Regions from separate parts of the Homo sapiens genome. Here region 2 is linked to region 1. The links are contacts of gene promoters, found by promoter capture Hi-C in human tissues and cell types (Jung and others, 2019). All regions are on one chromosome and are shown on one strand. The core of a region is centred on a gene start or on the middle of the fragment in contact, and the rest is flanking DNA. Distances in the headings are between cores, read along the strand shown.

Region 1 (3,309 bases), core at 183-2,682:
AACTAGCAGGGAGTGGTGGCACACACCTGTAATCCCAGCTACTTGGGAAGCTGAGGCAGAATTGCTTGAACCCGGGAGGTGGAGGTTGCAGTGGGTCAAGATCGTGCCACTGCACTCCAGCCTGGGCGACAGAGCCAGACTGTCTCAAAAAAATAAATAAATAAAATAAAAATTGTAAAAAGTTTCTGCTCCTTTTGCACAATAGATATGCCTGAGTCTCACCCCACCCTGACCTACTGTCCAGCACTCAGGTGGAGGTCAGTAATAAATATTTTGAACTTGAAGTCAAACTATTTCACCAACCACTCTCCTCCCCAACCAAATAATTACCTAGCTCCCATTTTCTAAGTGCTCACCATGTGCCACGTATTAAGTTAAACACTTAATATGCATAAGCTCATGCAGACTTTAGTTTTGAACAGATAACCGAGGCTGGGTATGTAGATGCTTCCTCAAAAAGTCACACAAAGGATACAGTCCCCCAGAGACACGTGGTCCTTAAAAATCGTGTACCTAAGAAAAAGAGACATTTCAGAGATAAGGCTAAGGAGGCTCTTCAGTCTGTAGGCCAAATGAGGTAGCCAAGCCTAAGCAAAGGGCTGCCTGCAGCGCTCCCCCAACCAAAACCTTCCGGCCTAGTCCAGTCCACCCAGTGGCTCTACCGCTGCACTCACCACTTCTTCAGGACAATCTTGTTCCAACGGGTACCAGTTTGGGCTGCAATCAGCTTCTTAAGGTCCCCGATGGTATCATCCGTGCTGGGCGCAGAGCAGTTAAGGCAAATGGAAGCGGTAGAACGAGGAAGAGGACATTCTAGGGCAGAATACCATCTGCCAGGACCCCATCCGCCCCCTCTCCCGGGTTTAACTAAAACCATCCGACAACACAGATTGAGTTGCCTGCCTCACGCCAAGCACCCCTGCGGGTACCACTGCCTCTCGGCTGCCAGTGGATACTTGCATTTAACGCGGACCTTCTTCCCCAGACGGTCGTTGCAAACAACCTCGATCATCCTAGCTGGAGCTACACAAAGCGGGGGGTGGGTGGGAGGCAGCAAAGTCAGAGCTTCAGGCGTCTCCCAGGCCCAGAAGCCCCAGCCTACAAGTCTCCCAGTCCCAGGCCCTAAAATTCCAGGTTACTGAGCCTTCCGTTCTGCCCCCAACCCCCCGGACTCGAATACTCCCAGGCCCCAAGTCCCCTGTCCCAGGGCCGCGAACCCCGGGGAGCCGCGCCTCCGCCCCTTCTCGCCGCCTGAAAGCCCTGCCACAAAACTCCCTGGCCTCACCTCCCACCGACCCCAGACCCTGGGTGGCTGGGTCGCGACAGCTTTCTCCGACTCCGAGCCTCTCCGCTTGACCCCCTCACCTCGAATCGCCTCGAACCTGCCGACGCCACCAGCTCCTCACCCGAGCGCTGAACCCCGGTCGCAGTTAACGCTAGGAACCGGAAGCGGAAGTTAAAGTTCGAGGCCGGAAGCCCTGCCCCTAGCCAGGGGGTGTGGTCAACACTGGGACAAGTTCTTCCGGGTCTGCAGTCTGTGGTGTGTTTGCTGTTCCCAGGTACGGTTTCGGTGTCCCAAGGCTTGACAGGTGTCGCGCCTGTGGTAGGCGCGCCGGGTAGAGAGGGGGGCCTCGGCGGGTTTGTGGCCAGGGAAGGGGCGTGGAGCGAGAGTCAGAGGTCAGGCGCCGGCGCCCAGCTCGTTTGAAGTCATTGTTTGTTGCAGGGAGACTCGGTCACATGGTGGGGACGCCAGAGGGTCCCGGGAGTAGGGGTAAGCTCCTGATCCTGAGCCCGAAGCCTCTTGCAGCGGCAACTAGGAGCAAGGGCGGAGGGTGGGGGTGGGGGACGAGTTCTGCAGTCATCCCTTCTGACCCCCTGGGTTCATTCAGGGCTGGGCTTGGTGAGCATTTGGCTCACCTCTTCCCTCTGGCCATCGCGTTCCCCCGGGATACGGACTCCAGTCAGTAGGCGAAGCTTGATCCTAGAGTAGACTCTACGCTGCCCAACAGCTGCTGTTACCGCATGGTGCCGGACAGTTCCAGGCTCTTGGTGTCCTGAAGAAAGATTTGGACCAGACACACAGAGATGGCAAAGCTGCAAGTTTATTAAGCACAGTATTCCACTCTCGGAGTGGGGAGAGCGGACTGACCTCTGCGAGATAAGATCAGCCCCAGCTTGGTATAGTTTGGGTCTTTTTTTTTTTTTTTTTCTGAGACGTAGTCTCGCTCTGTTGCACAGGCTGGAGTGCAATGGCGCGGTGCCGGCTCACCGCAACCTCCGCCTTCCGGGTTCAAGCGATTCTCCTGCCTCAGCCTCCCGAGTAAGTAGCTGGGATTACAGGCGCCCGCCACCACGCCCGGCTAATTTTTGTACTTTTAGTAGAGATGGGGTTTCACCTTATTGGCCAGGCTTTTTTTCTCTTCCCAAGGCTGCCTAATATCTAGCCAGTGTCTACCTTTTTGAATGATAGGTGTGTTGCTTACTTTGGCCCCTGTGTGCTTGAGAGCCGCCTCCATTCATGATATGCCGTCCATATGCATGAGCGCTAATGAGCTGGTTATCCTTATCATGTTAAGGATACTTTTTGTCTTTAATGCGCGTGCTTATGCCTAAAGAGCTGCTCCTTACTGGTTTGGTCCTGATTTCCCCGGCCGTGGGATTTTTACTGTTTTTTTTTTAATTTTATTTATTTATTTATTTATTTATTTATGGAGTCTCGCTCTGTCGCCCAGGCTGGAGTGCAGTGGCGTGATCTGGGCTCACGGCAAGCTCCGCCTCCCGGGTTCACGCCGTTGTCCTGCCTCAGCCGCCTCCCGAGTAACAGGGACTACAGGCGCCCCCCACCACCCTCGGCTAATTTTTTTGTATTTTTAGTAGAGACGGGGTTTCACTGTGTTAGCCAGGATGGTCTCGATCTCCTGACCTCGTGATCCGCCTGCCTCAGCCTCCCAAAGTGTTGGGTGTGAGCCACTGTGCCCGGCCTTTACTCAGTTTTTAATCTTCCTTTTGTTTTGTCTCCTCAGCTTCTGCCATTTATCTTGCTTCTTGCTGGGTGAGCAAGAAGGGGCGGGTGCCCTTTCACCTTGCTTCTGCTCTCTGCTTTTACGTATTTTACCCTTTATCCAACTTTTAATTCCCTTTGCTATTCTTCTGCCTCATTTTCCCTATTCTCCTTTCTCACTGCCAGTCACCAACCTTAAATGCCTGCGAGGTAACTGGAAACATTGCACATTTGCACAATCTCCTGCAGCTGTATCTTTGGGGAGCACTTTGTACCAGATTCCAGGTTTGTGAGGGCTGGTGGGACAA
Region 2 (3,375 bases), core at 324-2,823, 260 kb after region 1:
AAGTTTTTTCTGATACATTTCTGAGTTGCTCTTCTGTGTTATTTTGGAGATCACTGAATTTCCTTAAAACTGTTATTTTGAATTCTTAGGGAGCTCACATATTGTCATTTCATTAGGTTCAGTCACTGATACTATTTTCGTCCATTTTAGGAGGTCGTGGTTCCCCATTTGCTGTTGTTTCTTGTGGATGTACATCTGTGTCTGTGCATTGAAGGATTAGTTATTTATTACAGTCTTTGTCTGGCTTGTGGTTTTTATTGGGTATGTTTTCTTTTTATCTTTTTTGTTGTTGTTTTGAGACAAGGTCTCTCTCTGTCACCCAGGTTGCAGTGCCGTGGTGTGACCATGGCTTACTGCAGCCTCTACCTCCCAGGCTGAAGCAATCCTCCCACCTCAGCCTCCTGAGTAGGTGAGGTGCACGCCACCACACCTGGCTACTTTTTGTACTTTTTAGTAGAGATGGGTTTTCATCTTGTTGCTGGTCTTGAACTCGAGCTTAAGCGATCTGCCTGTCTCAGCCTCCGAAAGTGATTTTCTTTCTTTAAAATTTCCCTAGGTCACTGCCTCGTTTTCAGCACTAGATGGAATCTTAAACCCACGTTTGCCTTTGCTATAGCAAACTATCAAGAATACTGCCCATTCAGAATGAGGGAGTCCTAAAGGGCATATTCCAGCACTGTGGGAAGGCTGGCTGTGTGTTCATGCCCAGGTGACCTGTGTAGCGTACCCCTACAGTATGGTGCTCCTGAACAGCCACTCTGACTTGGCTTCTCCTTTGGCCAAGTTATAAAACAGAGTTTCCAGGGCTGGGATGGTAGTCCTGCCTCCCATCTTTGTCCCTGGATGTCCTCAGGGATGTTTCTCCCTTCAGGCATTTGTAATGCTTCCTGTGGGTTGAGACAGGGAGGGACTGATCTTTTACCAGGGAACCCAGGATGATGGAGAAGGTGGTTGTCCACATTGATCTCAGTTTTTTCCAGTGTAGAAACTGTGAATTGGTAGAAATTTTCCACATTCTTGGAAACTTGATTCTCTTAACGTCTCCCTTGGAGTTTTTTCACTTCTTTGTAGCCCCAGAAACTGCCTAATTTTTATATTTTAGATCAGGGATATTGCTGGTGATAATTTTCACAATATGCATTTGGTTGTAGTTTTCTGTCAGGGGATTGAAACCAGCTTGCTTCTGTACTACCATTTTGGAACCGTAAATGCTGCATGCTTCTAATAAAGTTGTCTAAGGTATTTTCAGGCAGGGCACAATGATTCATGCCCGTAATCCTAACACTGGGAGGCTGACGTGGGAGGATTGCTTGAGACCAGGTGTTTGAGACTAGCCTGGGCAACGTAGTGAAACCTCATGTCTATAGTAAAAAGAAAAAGAAAAACAATTAGCCAGGCATGGTAGTATGTGCCTATAGTCCCACATACTCGGGAGGCTGAGGCAGGAGGATTGCTTGAGCCCGGGAGTTTGAAGTTTGAAGTTGTAGTGAGCTATGATCATGCCACTCTAATCCAGCCTGGGTGACAGAGTAAGACCCTGTCTCTAATTTTTAAAAATGTGTTTTCTACTTCCTATTCATTGGATATGATCAGTATAATGGTGTCAACATAGTGTACTAGTGTGGTGTTTCATGGAATGTCATTTTCTCTGGGGATTAAGTTACGACAGAGACCTCGAGAACTGACACATTCTAGGGGCAATGTTATGAAGATACATTGTTGGTCCTGCCAGGTGAAAGGTAACCAAGTCTTGTTTTTTTCAAATTGGTATGGAGAAAAGACATTAGCTATGTCAATGCCTGCATACCAAGTGACAGAAATTATGTTGATTTATCTAGTAAAGGCATTACATTTTGAAAAATGGCGGTAATTGGAGTGATCACCTAAGTTCATGATTTATGAATGATTTCAGTGTGGTAATTGAGTGACAGGTTATGATTCTCCACTGGGATAAATCCAGTTTTTGGCTACTATAGTTTAGACTTTTTACATAGATGGAGCAGTATTCAAGTACAGAGATTGGTACACTATGGCCCATGGGCCATATCTGTCTCTCCATGTGTTTTTTGTATATAAAGTTTAATCAGAACACAACCGTGTTCATTTGTTTACATTTTCTATGGTATTTTCCATGCTACAACAGCAGAGTTGAGTAGCTGCAACAGAGACCATGTGGCCCATAATGCCTAACATATATTTTGTGGCTCTTTAGAGTAGGCTTTGTTAACTGCTTATCTATTTCATTTCTAGGGACAGCACGATCAGTTAGCCACCACCACAGATCTCTGTAGGTCAGGGCATTCTGATTACTGGTACATTTCCACTGTCCTTGATAGTTGATTTTCTCACCTTGTGTTTGGTGATTAAATACTACCTTCTTGATTTCTGCTATTCTGGGTCCCCTTCATCTCGATTGAAAGCAGGGAACTCGGCTGGGTGCGGTGGCTCACGCCTGTAATCCCAGCACTTTGGGAGGCTGAGGCGGGCAGATCACCTGAGGCCAGGAGTTCTAGACCATCCTGGCCAATATGGTTAAACCCCGTCTGTACTAAAAATACCCCCCCCCCTCGCAAAAAATTAGCCAAGTGTGGTGGCAGGTGCCTGTAATCCCAGCTACTTGGGAGGCTCAGGCAGGAGAATCGCTTTAACCCAGGAGGCGGAGGTTGCAGTGAGCCTAGACTGCGTCATTGCACTCCATCCTGGGCAACAAGAGCAAAACTCCGTCTCAAAAACAAACAAACAAACAAAAAAACCCAGGGAACTCATCTCAGTGATGGTATTCTTTGCAGTCATACCTGTCCTATGAAGGAGAATACCAACAGAGCTTTTCAAGGATTACGACACTCCCGCCACTACTCTCTTAATAACCTTTGTGAAGAGAGTGTCTTCTGCTCTGTCAACAAAGGGCGGGGGAGTGGGCTATACAGATGACACATAGTAAATCCAGTGCAACACTCCTGTCTCTCTAGGATTCCCTCCTTCACATTATGCCAGGGAAGCTCTGGCATATGAGCCTCATTAATTATAACAATTTCAGCCCTGAGAACATAAGAAATAACTTTATTTCAGGGGTGTCCTAAAGAAGCTCTCTGATTCTTTTGTTTTTGGATGGAATCTTGCTCTGTTGCCCAGCCTGGAGTGCAGTGGCATGATCTCGGCTCACTGCAGCCTCTGCTTCCTGAGTAAAAGCGATTCTCCTGCCTCAGCCTCCTGAGTGGTTGGGACTACAGGCACGTGCCACCACGCCCTGCTAATTTTTGTATTGCTTGAACTAGGGTGGGCGGCGGCAGAGGTTGTAGTGAGCGAAGATTGTGCCACTACACTCCAGCCTGGGGGACAGAGCAAAAATCTCTCAAAAAGAAAAAAAAGAGAGAG

The links. Contacts are between HindIII fragments. The study calls those that stand out against the background at their distance.
Region 2: a contact is called between a fragment that was not itself captured here and the fragment with the promoter of UBL5 in region 1, in 1 of the 25 tissues and cell types used here (neural progenitor cells).

The regions. Positions count from the first base shown.
Region 1 is chr19:9,826,041-9,829,349 of GRCh38, reverse strand. It overlaps UBL5 (ubiquitin like 5), which reads right to left and starts at 1,432. Exons shown (of 5, transcript NM_001048241.3): 1 at 1,366-1,432; 2 at 957-1,023; 3 at 675-758; 4 at 476-513. The coding sequence starts at 1,012. RefSeq lists a silencer at 1,316-1,622 and enhancers at 1,666-1,715, 1,126-1,850. The HindIII fragment of the contact is 8,707 bases long and covers 1-3,309 here.
Region 2 is chr19:9,569,936-9,573,310 of GRCh38, reverse strand. The region is part of intron 1 of ZNF121 (zinc finger protein 121); the gene reads left to right. Among named protein-coding and RNA genes, the nearest start is that of ZNF121, 13 kb to the left of the region's middle. The HindIII fragment of the contact is 3,682 bases long and covers 1-3,375 here.